2 separate regions of the Homo sapiens genome follow, and region 2 is linked to region 1. Evidence: promoter capture Hi-C in 16 types of primary human blood cells and fetal thymus (Javierre and others, 2016). All regions are on one chromosome and are shown on one strand. Each heading gives the region's core, a stretch centred on a gene start or on the middle of the fragment in contact. The rest is flanking DNA. Distances are from core to core; before and after follow the strand shown. Region 1 holds the start of HS3ST1 (heparan sulfate-glucosamine 3-sulfotransferase 1). Region 2 has its middle 44 kb from the start of WDR1.

Region 1 (6,692 bases), core at 1,686-4,185:
CTGATATTTTCCAGCACTAGCTGGAAAGTTACTGCATTTCCCTGGAAGCTGCTAAAAAGTTACCACTCTCCTGCAACAACTGTCTCTAACACAGGGACCCAGGCTTAGATGCAGGCCCGGAAACCTGGTGCCTGAGCACTGACCCAGCCTACAGGCTCAATTTCATCAGGACACCAGATACATCTTACTGTGCCTTCCTCCAAACTTTAGCCCCCATAGACAGACATGATTTAGCAACCACGGTGGGGATATGCCATTGTGGGTAGCTGCTATGTTCTCAGAAAGGCAGTGTGCATGAGTGAAGCAATTTACACCACCCAGGCCATCTTTCTAGCCCCTTCCTAGTCACCATCGAGTTTCAATTCAAGGCAAGAGAAGCTTCCATGTGGCTTTTCCCTTCAGAGGCCCCCCCCCCAACCCTCACAAGATTTTTCCAGTAAAATAATTTCTTATTTTAATAAGAAAAGTACATGCTCCAACTTTTAGGGGGACCCAGGGGGGGGGCTTGAGGCTTCATTCTAGACATAACCACAGGAAAGTAAAGAACCCTTTGCTTTTTCCGATGCCATCTCAAGATGCCAATTTCTCACCAGCTTCTCAGAACAAAAATCTCCTATCTTAAAACTACAGAGCATTGTATACCCTGTGGCATCACAGAGGATCCACAGTCTAGAAGCACAGCTTAATAAGCCTCACTAAGGAATCTTCATCTATGCTGCTGTTGTAATTAACTGCTTCCACTTAAGAGTGCTTAGTCATGAAGTTGTCCATCCCTGTCAAACTCAGCTGAAAGAGTTAGATGGGCTAACCAAAACCTGGAAAGACTCTTTTAGAAGCTGTTCTTTCTCTGCTTAGCGCTGGAGAAAACCTTATGTAACACAATGGTCCATTTCAATATGTTATTTCTGCAATCCTGTGGGGGAAAATCTAAGCGCTGGATGTACAACGGGAAGGGTAAGGCAGGGATTTGCAGCGGAGCGCGCGTCTCCTGGAATTTCAGTAGGTAAGGCTTATTCTAATTGCACCCAGTGTTACCCAATATTACCAGGAATGCAGAAAGCAAGAAAAAAATCCGAACGTCAAAGGATGCGCTTTGCTTTAGAAATGCAGGGAGGCAGAAGTTGGGTTATTTCTCCCTCCTTTTTTTTTCTTTTTTTTTTAAAGATGGAATTCCTGGAATTAACCCTTGGGTGGAAGCATTTCAACAAAATAAAATGAGATTTGCCTGCAAAGCGAGAACGCACGGGTGGGAATGAAGGATCCTGCCTGTGCCAGGCTGCTGCCTCAGCAGTGTCCAAGCACCCAGCGCCTGAAAGCGGGAGCGTGGGGACTCGTCTGGGGACCCTCTTCCGGGGCTACTGGCGGGAGGCGCAGCCGAGCTGGTGGTGGCGGGGTTTCCCTCCGGGGCTAGGGCTGAGGGAGGAGAAGAGGGCGGACTGGCTCCTTCCGTTCTCGGCCACCCTCCCCGCCACTCCTTGAGGCTGCTCCATGCTAACAGGAGACTGTTTCTCGGAGCGCAGCGCAAAGACAGTGGATTTGGAGTGGCCTCCCTAGAATCCCCCCAAAAGCATCTTGGCACAAGTTGTAGATAAAAATAGCTCATGATAACATTGTGGGAAAGGGAGGAGCGAGACTCGCGCAAGGCGAGGCAAGGGTACCACTGGATCTGCAAAGGAGGAGGAAGAGGGAGGATGCAACCCTTGGCCCAAGAGAGCGCCCTGAGTGTGCGAGGAATCGCTGGCTCCCAGGGGAGGGAAAGAGATGGAAGACCTATAGCGCCTATAACTGCAGAGTTATAGACCTATAACTGCAGAGCCCAGCACACCCCATCCCGCGCCGGCACCCGGCTTTGGCTCCAGCTTCTTCTTCCCATCATCCGCCTACGTTCTGGGTCTGTCCTCCGCTTCCTGGGACAGGCTGGGGCTAGAAGGAGGAGCAGCGCGCCGTCCGCCCCCTGGCTGGTAGAGCGCACCTGGAGAGGTCAAGCTCCGCGAATAAGACCCTTCCTGGGAGCTGGGGTCTAGGCGTTCCAACCGCGGGTTCGCACCCCGCCATCCCTCACCTCCATCCGCTGCCACTACCCAAGGGCCCGGAAATAGAAAACCACGAAGGGGGAAAAAAATCAGTAAAAAGTAACAAGAAAAAAATCAAGACCCTCATGTAATTGGCATTAGGGATGAGAGGTTTATTGTCAGGGCTGTCACCTCAATCTCTCTCTTTGGGAGATGCCTATCTCCAACCAAATGCAAAGGCAAACCCGACCAAGGCTTCTCCACCCCCAAAGGCTCCCTCAGCCGAGTTACTTTTGCGGGCTGTGTCCTCGCCCCAGTTTCTGGCCCCAGGTGGTACCCAGGATCCGTTGAGTGCTGCGCTCTCGCTGCCCTACAGGGTCCTATGGTGAAGCTGCGGTCGCGAAGCGGCCGGCAGGAGCGAACCTCACGACTCTGCAGGGGGGGAAAACATCCAACCCAGTAAGAGTCAGAAATCTGGGTCCCTGTCCTTACAGATCAACCGGTCCCTCGGGACTTCCAGAGCAGAGGTGCTAGGGCAGGAGGTGAGGAGGATGGGAAAATCCCCAGCCTTTGCTTCCTGGTTCCCTCTGCATCCACTCCACCTGCTCCAGCCTCGATTCTTCTTAGGTTCTGCACTTGCCCGAAGTCCAGAACGCCAGACAAAGGCACCTCGGAGCCCTCTACACCTGCGTCCTGCCACTCTCCCACCCCGCGCGCGCCGCACTCACCTGAGCCGCGCCTCTGTCCAGCCCGTCCGGCGCCCTAAATAGGCTCCTAGGCTGGGCCATGGGCAGCACTGCCGAGCACCCGCGGCGGGTAGAGCAAGTTTCTGGATGGCCCGGGGCAGGCGGGCGGGGAGAAGGCGCAGGCACCCACTGAGACCCGGCTGTCGTGGCGGCGACTCCTGGCTGCCAGGGCGCAGAGGACCTTGCAGGCGGGCGTTTTGGTGCTCAATCCCGAGGAGGGGGAGGAGCGGGAGGAGGAGCGGGAGCAAAAGGAGGGGACGGAGGAGGCCGGGCCCGGAGGGAGAGCGCGTTGGGCAGAGGAGGATCGCGAGCGCCCACTGCTGCCCGGCCCGCTCGGGTGCCGCCCAGAGTCCGGCCCGCTAGGTGCCTGGTGCTCCGCTCTGCGCTCAGCTGCTCCGCACAGCCCCGCCTGGCACGCAGCTCCAGCGGCTGGTCGGGTAGTAGTCGGTCCCGCCCACCCGGTGCGGTGGCCCCTGGGGTTTCAGTCCAAGGGGAGGGACCAGCGCTCCAAGAAGGTGAGGCTGCTGGGATGGGTGACTCCGCCGTCACTGCAAACACGGGACGTCCCGTCTACTCCCTTACGCCTGCTTGGTCTGAGCCCGAGTCTACCTCTTCTCTAAGTCGCCAGCTCGGCACTTGTACCCGGGACCTGTGCTCCTCCCACGTGAGTCTGCACCATGCGTATTCCCTTCCTGGCAGGTGACCCACCTTAGGCGCTGGCGCTCCTTCCGCCCCCCGGGAAGCAGGAGGTGCCATCCTCTCCAATTCGCTCTGCAGCCGGACTGGGACCGGAGCGGCGGCCTGGGCCAGAATCCGCGTGAGGAGCCGGCTTCAAAGAGCGCCCTGTCGCCATTGAACACTCCTTTTCCTTTGGTTTAGCGTCGGAGAGCGGACGCCAATTTGCCAGGAGAGCGCGGAAAATTCAGCTTTTTTTTTTTTTTTTTTTTTTTTTTTTTTCCGCTAGTGCACTAGGATTGCAAACGTCAGCTCTGAAATAAAAAGCAGGATATTTCTGCCCCGCTCCTCTATTCCGGAAGCTGGGAGGTTCTGTGGGAGAAAGGACCTGCACCCAATAACTCAATTTAAGATTTAAGGTTTTGAGGGGCGTGGGGTTGGAATCGCCTTGGAGAAACGGGTTTGCCTGCTTACCTGAGCCAAAGGAAGTTGCCCTCAAAGGCAGGTCAGCAATCATACCCCGCCAAAAGCAAATGCACATCAAAGTAACTTCCTTTAAATGAGATTACTGTAGTTTCCATGTCTTCCACATTAGTAAATAAATATTTGGAAGACTTCGAATTTGTGATTTACGTTTAAATATATTTCACCAACATTGTTTAATTAAAAAAAAATCCCATCTAAGAGAAGGTTCCTATAGGAAATTGGCCCTTTAACTCATACACAGATTACCCTCGGCACTTTCAGAAAACAACACAGTGACCAGTATATTCTGTCTTTTTGATACAGCCAGAAGCACCCTGAAAGCTGAGACCTAACTGTGCTTTTGGAAAATAAGCTTTTAGGAGTTGAATGACCTTGTCTACTTCTTTTAGTCAGAATAATGTTGGCATGTCTATTTTAGGTTAAAAAAAAATACAAATTCTAAAAAGTGACTTTAAAGGCCCACTTTGAAAGCCTTAGCATTTAAACTAACATTAGATTTAAAAGAAGGGCTTTTCTCCCCCATTATAGGAAGCTGTGTAAAATCATGTGTGAGGTTGTGAGGGTCAAATGGAAGTCTAAGATAAAGTTCTGCCAATTACTGGTGTCTTTAAGCTTCCACCAGCAGCCAAGCACAGTGCAGATCATGAGTCCTTCAAAATACGGGGTGGTTTTAATGCTCTAAGTTGGTATGATTACTTTTTCTAAAGAGCTCAAAGTGCTTTGGTGCCATAGTATGAATTTCATTACCCATTGTGAGACACAAAGGGGGTTAGCAATGATTCTGTTTGCACCCTGGAAGCCAAAGGCAGGTTACTCACCCACTTAGTTCCCTACCACAAGACCTTGAAAGAAACTGGAACCCCAGGTCTCCAGCCCAGAGATTTTGTTGGAAGTTTCCATTTGCAGGAAATGACTGCAGGGCACATGTGGGAAGTGACAGGAATTTGAGGACTAACATTTTAGTTTTCCTCATTTCTTTTTAAATCTGAGCAATTGTTCATTGATCGATAATCTATGTTCTTACATTCAGATAAATAAAAACACCAACTGGCTATTTTGTTCTTACTTAGTTTTATGTGTATGTCCAGGCATTTGCCACTGCTCCTAAATAGCTCTCCCTGAAGTCTTCTGGTCATGAGTTAGGTTTCTTATCCAGAAGCTCATGTAGTGCCAGAGCTTAGCTCTCCTATGACAACACAATCACATTATTGAAACATCTATTTAGGGATCTGTCTTCTCTAATAGATTATAAACGCCTTGAGCTTGGGTATCGTGATTTAATGATGAATCCTCCATGGTATCTGAATCCCAGAATCCTACAATCCTGCATGGTATCTGAAACATACTATGCTCTTAAAAAAAAAAAAAAAAAACTTTGTAAATGGAACTTCCCTCAAGGAGTCAGGGTTTAAGTCAAACATGTTTCCCTTTCAAAGCCGTGGGCATGAGAATAGAGGCTGTTAGGAGACACAGTAGTAGTTGACTGCAAAAGTGTCTGTCAGTCAGTTGTGTGGCCCAAGACTCTTTTTATCAGTTCCAACAACTGAAAAATGAGAGGGTTTTAGTGGAAGATCTCTGTACTGCTAATATTTTAAGATCTCGAAGTCTTTATTGAGCACCTAGTATGTGTACAACACTATGCCAGTTACTAAGAGAGAGATGAAAAAATAAGATATCTCCATTGCCCTAAGAGAGCATAAAATCTTATCTCAAGGAAAAACAAGGCAAACACTCCTAGCCTACCTTTACAGACACGCACAGACATGAGTTAACACAGTTGTAAACTGTTCTAAAGAAGATAAAGGCTCAAGGAGTGAAAAGGCATGAAATAGAAACAAAAGCAACTGACCTATGAGTTTGGGCAATAATCAGTAATAATACCAGCTAAAGTGTATCTAAGGCTTATAGTGCCAGGTACTATGCAAAATGAATCATAGGAGCTGCACCTTTTGTTCATTTTACAAATGGGGAAACGGAGGTTTAGGAGAGTTTAGTGACTCGTTCAAGGTGACATACTAATAAGTGGTAGGGCTGATATTCAAAGAGTTCTCACCTGACTCCAAAGTGCATCTTCTCAACCAATATTAGAGATTATTAGCCCAGACTTCCCTATTTTATAATTGAGGGATTTCATTAGAGCACTAGAGGAGGAAGCTACCCTTCCAGTAAAAACTAGACTCCTAGTCTAGTGCTCTATGTAATTAAGTAATATGCTTATGTTTGCTATTTTTCTGGTTTTTCTCTTTCCCACAAAATATGTAATAGGAGACGGGAGGTCAGGAAAAGGGGAGAGAGAGAAAAAGAGAGAAGTTGCTTCTTTTGAAGATGTCCAGAATCCACAGTAGTCTACCTGCTCAGACTCAATGGGGTTTTATTTGTAACCCCCAGTCTAGTGGGCAGCCCTGTATAGCCTTTCTTCCCATCATGGCTGTTTGAATCTTTCAGGTTAATAGCATGAATATTAAAGACTCCAGTGGGACTCTTTATCCACAAAGGAAATTGGGATCAGGTTAAAAATCCAATTTTAATAAACTTTCCAAGTCCTGATTTAGATGAGGTACTAATGGCTCTTACTGCTGAATCACCTTAAAAGTCAAATGTATTTTTAAAAGGGAAGCTTGTTGGGTATTGTTTAATTGTGCATTGCACATTCCTGTCTTAATAGAAAAAGATCATCTGTAAAACTTATGAGAGCAGATAGGAAATGCCACTATCCACAGAGCCAGTTGGGTAGAGGGAAGGGCGTTGGGTTTGAAAGATAATTTTCACTCGT
Region 2 (6,496 bases), core at 985-3,484, 1.3 Mb before region 1:
TTAGGAGCTACATGTGGCCCCAGGAGGACTGAGCCAGCAGCAGGTGCATTGGATGAAAGTCGATGCAGGGGGGAGACCAGGGAAGAAGCAAACTCCATGACAGGAAGAGGGGGGTTCAGCTTTCAGGTACAGTGTCTGATCACTGGCAGTCAGCACTTGACCTGTTCTAGAAATGGCTCCTGGGGCTGCTGTGATCATGCTTGTAGACAAAGGAGCCAGCCTGGCTTCCTGGGAAAAGGACTAGAAGCCTTGGGTTCCTGGAGGTGGCCTTGAGGACTCTAGGGATAAAGGGATCTGATGGGAATACTTTACCTTGGAATGCAGCCGGAGGAGCCATCCTAGGCAGTGACCCGGGAATCCTTCAGTGTACTTTGTGAAAGAGGCTGTCTGCTGTCATAACTGATCTCTTCCATACTTGGTGGTTTTTCCTTCCCAGGCACTAGTATTACATACATCTTGTTTCTTAAGTCACTACTTGGTAAGAGAAGCGTTGCCTCAAAGCAGGTAATTCTGTGTACTGTGAACCTAGAGCCACCAGGGAAGGCCACACTTCTCTAACGGTGAAGTGAGTCTGCCCAGGCAGTCATCTCCAGTGATGGGTCCTGGAGGCTCTGCCCTCTGTGGCCTGGGGTTGCTGCTGTGCCCCTTACAAGACAGCCTGCTGTGTGTGGCTGCCATCTCCTAAACTCAAGTTTGGCTCATTTTCTTTGAGCATGGGTGATATATCTTTTTCCTTTCCTAGGAGAAGGGGTGACTTCTAAATAATAAAGTTCCATTGTTGCTAGGGCACATGATCTTTGTTGGGTGGGGTGATGTCAGAATGCTAAGTTCCTAAGAACTTACCATTTCATTGTCTGTTGTGATGCCTCATGGCCACCAGGTGGTGCTTAAGGACCCTCAGCCAAGGGCCAGAATGGAAACAAGCTGATGGCTCTTGGAACTCCTGGACGGATTTGAGGAATACACTGGGGGAGGAGTTCTTGTTACTCTTATCATTTTCATTAGATTCGTCTGGATCCTGTGTGAACTAATGCCATCCCCCTGAACAAATGGCTTCTGAAATGTGGACAATTCCTGCCTGGGGAGGCAGCCATGGATGAGCAGGAGAGCCCAGGTTCTCCTGCCTGGCAGGAGTCTGAGCTCAGTGCTTAGAGGCTGCTCTGCGCACCCCACCCCCACCCCCACCCCCACCCCCACCCCCACCCCCACCCACCAGGCCGGGCACCGTGCTAAGCAGGCAAATGTTCTCAGTGTTAGGCGAGCATCCCATGTTACAATCACGTGATCCCAGGTACCAAGTTTGTTTGCAGTAATTTTCACGGAAAACATGAACACAATCAGCTTGGCTTATGAACTATTTTTTGCCGTGGAAATACGTACAAAGCCTGCTTTGTTCTGTAGACTAGTATCACATGACATTGGTTAGAATGTAAACTTGAAAAACATCCAACAGACTTAAACTCCTTACAACATAATTTATACAAAGAGTTTATAGTCTTCAGGACTGAGAACAAGAATAAAAGACCGTTTTTACTTGGTAACTGTATTGCTTAAATTATAACATTTCGTAACTACATTAACTATTGTCAAGTAAAGTGGAAAGAACACAAACCATGATGGACATGCTTTTACATAAAAGCACCTCCTAGGCAACTCTGCCCTTCAGGAAGTGTTGCTCACCTAGAAGGCTGGCACTGCTGTGTGAGCGGTGTTTCCTAGTTATGTAGGCTGGCCTGATGAGCTATGTATGGCAGCACTAGCAGGACCTGCTCGAAACGACAGAACTCTCCACAATACTTTGAGAAATGATTCCACATCCTAAAGCCCAAAATCATGAAAATTGTCTCAAAGTTGGGGCTTTTTTCAAAAACTCAGGTCAACCATGCCATTCAGCTGCTCCTTTGTGGGTCCCCTCAGATTCTGTGGGTCCCCTCAGATTCTGTGGGTCCATGTCCACAGGTGACTCGTTCAAAACACTAGTCCCAGGCAGCTCTCAGCAAAGGTGGTGGGGGTTGCACACCTGCTCCAGCACAGAGGCCTCCTGGGGCTCTTGACAGGGCAACAGCTGGGGCTGCATCTCCCTTGACATCTCCTATTTTCAATGGAGAAGCGTCAGGTGACTATGCCCTAAGTGTATGCAGGCCAGGCAGATGTTGGGGTGCCCTTCCATCAAGGTCTGGTGGGGCTTTCTCTGAAAGGATATATGGCTGCTGTCCTGGTCCGTGGAGATGACTTTGTAGTAGCTGCCTTAGAGACGCCTTCATACAAAGGCTGAGCAGTGGGGTCCTTCATATTCTTGTATTAGTTATATCTGCTGAGGAGGAGACAATGTCTGAGGCAAGGACTGTGCCAGAACCTCTGTCTTCTGAAGCACAGATTACTTGGGATTTGGTAATGGCTGACACTTGGGAGTTGTTCTTGTTGCTTTGGTGCTTGTGTTGTGCCGTGTGCTCTAGCTGAGCCTTCTTGGGACATCACTGCCCTATCAGAAGAGATCAGTAGCTCACAGTCTTCCTGAGGTCAGCATTGTTACATGCAAGCTCTGCAGAGTCCTTTTTCTCCAGCTTCATGTGGATGGCTGTGGGATGACCTGTGGGATAGTGCTCCCAGAAGCCCAGCACCATTTCATAGAATTGCATTCCTGGCCCCAGGAGTAAACACTTTTGCAGACTTCTCATCCCAAAGCTGCTGGACTTGAGACCTGGGTTGCTCTGCAGCTGCTTGCTGCTGCATATCTTGCCCAGGGGGCACTTGTGGAGATGAGATCACTATTGCAAAAGGTATATGCCACAGTTGAGAGCATAAGAACTCTCCATTACTTGGGAAACACTGGCCATGATGCTGGAACTGAAGTGAAGGTACCTGTTTCCCTCAATCCTTGTGACTCATACATTAGAACCTGTTCCTGAAAGACTAGCTTCTGCTGGTAATTGAGGCTGCTAGGGATGACATCCCCATTCTGCTGTCCTTGAAATGGTGAGAGAAGCCCTTTTGTTGCTCCTGCTGCCTCTTTACCTGCACACCATGAACACAGTGCAAGAGGGAAGGGCCTTGCATGCTGGCTTTCTTGCATCTCAGGCTTGAGAATACTGACATGCAGAAGGATAAGGAAACATTACATCTAGAAAGGCCACTCTGTCACCTGAATATCCCAAATCCCAGCTTGGTATCCTCTTTAACCCATGGGGCTACAGTTATTTGGGCCATCTTATTTGCTGGGATTCCCCTGTATTACTACAGAAGAGTGGCCAGCTCCACCCAGTAGAACTTCCTGGGCACGAGAGTTCTGCTCGGTGTCATCAGTGGGAGATTCCACCTGTTTTTTCTGGATTAAAAATAGGTGACTTGGGCAGAGGGATCATGGTTTCTTGGCAGTGTAGATCGTATGTGCCTCTAGGTGGTAGTATGGCTCTTGTTTTGAAACCAGTTGTTTGTTACGTAGGACAAGAGACTTCGCTGGCCACTTTTTTTTTGGTTGTAAAATCGGGGTAAGGGTTCTCTGCAAATGACTGAAGTATTAAATGACTGAAATATTCTTAGTTGATTCTTCATAAACTTATGCTTTGGTTTTCCACTTCCTCTTCCCCATCTTTCTTCATTGGGATTATCTTCAGAGATCTTGTGTTCAGATCCTGACTGAGGCTGACAGGCCCACAGGGTTGTTGGGCTTGACTGCTAATCACCACATGCTCATGTGTGTGGCCTAGTGACAATACCTACACATAGCAAAGTTATCCTACTTGTTTAAAGAATTCTGAGCTGCTTCTCTGACGTGTGGAGACACAAGTTGGCTTTCTGCCTCTTGCTCTTACTCCTTGGGAAACCAGACTCACTGTCCGAGACTCAAACTTGGAAAAAGGAGCCTACTGACTCAGAAGTGGATGGACAGGTGTGCACAGGACCTGTGCTCAGCACAAGAAAGTGAGGCTACATTCTGTCAGTGTGTCTTCCCCATCCTTGTGCCAGTGTGCTTACCTCTCACCAGGAGATGAAAATTTCTAGCTGGGCTACAGAGGCGGCGGTCCCAAATCTTTCTCTCCGCCTCCTTGCACCATGTTACATTTACTGCTACTGATGCTTAATGGTGGCTTTGTTGTTCAGTTGTCCAGGAAGTAGATGCTGAGAGAACTAGAAATGCAAAAGACCTAGAATGAAGAGGGAAGCTGTCAGATCATAATGTGAATCAGCCAGTCCTGCCAGTCCAGTAGGGAGCACGAGAGCAGGATTCACTCAGGAATTCCACATGAGGTAGAAATGGCTCGACTCAGTTTGGCTTGGGGCCATCCCAAGAATAACAGCAAAGAGCTTGGAGCCCTTGGGTAACCACACTCCGCAGCTGGACAGCAAGTCTGATGAAATGGCTGACAGGTTGGCATGGTTGTCAGTTGATGGGCAGCTATGATTTTCAAATCCTAAACTGCAGCTGCAGTTGGTCTGGAAGGACCATAAGATTATCTGTTTTCCTAATGTCAGTCCTCAGAGTCCCTCACACTTGGCCAATACTTGTCAAAGTTGCTTGTTTCAAAGGTGACCAAACAACCACCTAATGTCTGAGCCCCTGCTGGCCTGTCCTTATCAGGCAATGTTTGCTGTAATGGCCTAGCTACTCCTGACCCATCAGGCATTGGGGGCACCAAGAAATGGCCCAGTGTAGCAGCAGTTCCTGCTCACCTTCCGGCAAAAGGAGCCAAACATGACCTGGCAGTGTAGTTGGGTCCTCTGGAAGTATCTGGAGCTACACTGTCTAGGTCTGCTTTGGACCTACGTTTGGGAAGTAAATGCCTTCTAAACTCACTATCCGGGGTCATTGTGGGTAATAAGGGAGAAGCATCAGAGAACAGTTGTTGGTTTAAAGTAGGTACTGCAACTGGAGTGCATTGTGCTTGTCATAGGTTGTTTCCTGGCAGCAAACTGTCTCTTGAAACTGCTGGTAAACTGAGGCAGGCTACGGAAGAGGCTCTTGCAAGCCTGACTGTTCGCTCCTTTGAACCAGGCTGAGACTACTTCCGTGGGTGGTTTGTGGTGGGGTAGTTGAGCGCTTGGGGAAGGACACTTTAAGCCAACACTAAGTTTGTATAAAATATTCAGATTAAAACCCATGAAGAGAGAAAGGAGGCAGGATGGGGCTGAAGTCAGACTGGGACGTAAGACTTGTCAGTCTTGCTGAGCCTGGTGGAGAGGGTCCAGAGCATACAAAAAAGGCATTCCTGTACTCCAGCCAGTGGACCCTCTCCCTTAAACCTTCTGTGCTGACCTCATTACAAAGTATCTCCTTGATCTATATTTAAATTTCTGTCTTTAAGTTTTTAGATTGGCACACAATGTGAATGGACGAATTCTGTAATGTGTTCTAGGTGGTTCATGGTATAGGCTTAAGACACCAATTGTGCAATGTGAAAAGTCACACGGTGACACACGTGTCCTCTTGGGAAGACCAGGTGGACCTTGGACTTTACACAACTAAGTTTATAACAACCAGTCTAACACCAATGTGTACTAGCAAACCCAGGGGACTTCTGCCTACTTCCATACTGGAGGAGCCAAGTGGGTTGTTTGACTTTCTACAGCGATCTGAGAATGAAATAATTGGGTATGTGAAGTCAATTTGTGTTCCCTAGAGGCAGACTTGTAGATGGAAATTGTTTAAGGTGTTAGGTTTACTGGTGAAGTGAGCTCTCACACCTGAAAGCAAACTGGAACAGGGTGGAATGCAAACTGTTTGTTTTGGAAAAGAAGCTTAAATGAGGCCATAATCTCTGGAGCCAGAGTAGCTTCCACAGCTAGCCTTGAATATTACCTGGCTGGGCTTTTGTGTACTCCTCACACTCCTAGCCATTGGAAGTGGCCACATCCAGGGATGTGGCATAACATTGGCTCAAGAAACTTTGCATTACGACGAGGGCTGTTGTCCGCAGAAGAATGTTGAAACTTCTAGCCCAGGTATCGGGTGTAGCATAGTACCCAGCTCCTTGGAAAGGGAAGGGTGTACTGCCTGTCTTCTGAAAAGGGCAGATCCTGAGACCTTTATCTGGGGACCTGTCCTTGAACTGCTGAGGTTTCCCATGCATCCTAGCAGGGCTTTGAGTTCCTCAATTCTAGGACCATGGATCCACCTACCAAGGGAAGCTCAGGTGATGAGCTGCAGGGTGGGAAAGGAGGCTCCTAGGTGACCCTGGACTTGGCTTCACCATCATTGTGAGATTGACAGCTGGTGGAGCTGGTTGTGTGTACTGAAGGTTGGGTGGGGGTGGTGTTCAAGGGGCTTCCCTGAGTGACTACTTGGGACCTTTATCATGTTTTAGATGCCCTCAATCTTGCTAGTGCTCCATTCTTCACTTAGGGGGGACTAGCTGTGAGCCCCCACCTGTATTGCCACAGCCTAAGTGACATCAGATGAACTGGGAAGTGGTGCTGTGGACTGGCCACACTCCAGGGCCTTGTACTTGCTTATTATAAACTTGGCTTCTTTCCTGGGGACTAGGCTACAGTAGCTGGT

The links. Contacts are between HindIII fragments. The CHiCAGO score rates a contact against its expected background, and 5 or more counts as called.
Region 2: a contact is called between a fragment that was not itself captured here and the fragment with the promoter of HS3ST1 in region 1, in 1 of 17 cell types (megakaryocytes). The highest score is 5.9, in megakaryocytes.

Annotation. Positions count from the first base shown.
Region 1 is chr4:11,425,959-11,432,650 of GRCh38, forward strand. HS3ST1 (heparan sulfate-glucosamine 3-sulfotransferase 1) reads right to left here and starts at 2,936. Exons shown (of 2, transcript NM_005114.4): 1 at 2,741-2,936. RefSeq lists an enhancer at 2,592-2,811 and a silencer at 2,902-3,081. The HindIII fragment of the contact is 3,893 bases long and covers 377-4,269 here.
Region 2 is chr4:10,157,071-10,163,566 of GRCh38, forward strand. No RefSeq gene overlaps it. Among named protein-coding and RNA genes, the nearest start is that of WDR1, 44 kb to the left of the region's middle. The HindIII fragment of the contact is 6,999 bases long and covers 1-5,734 here.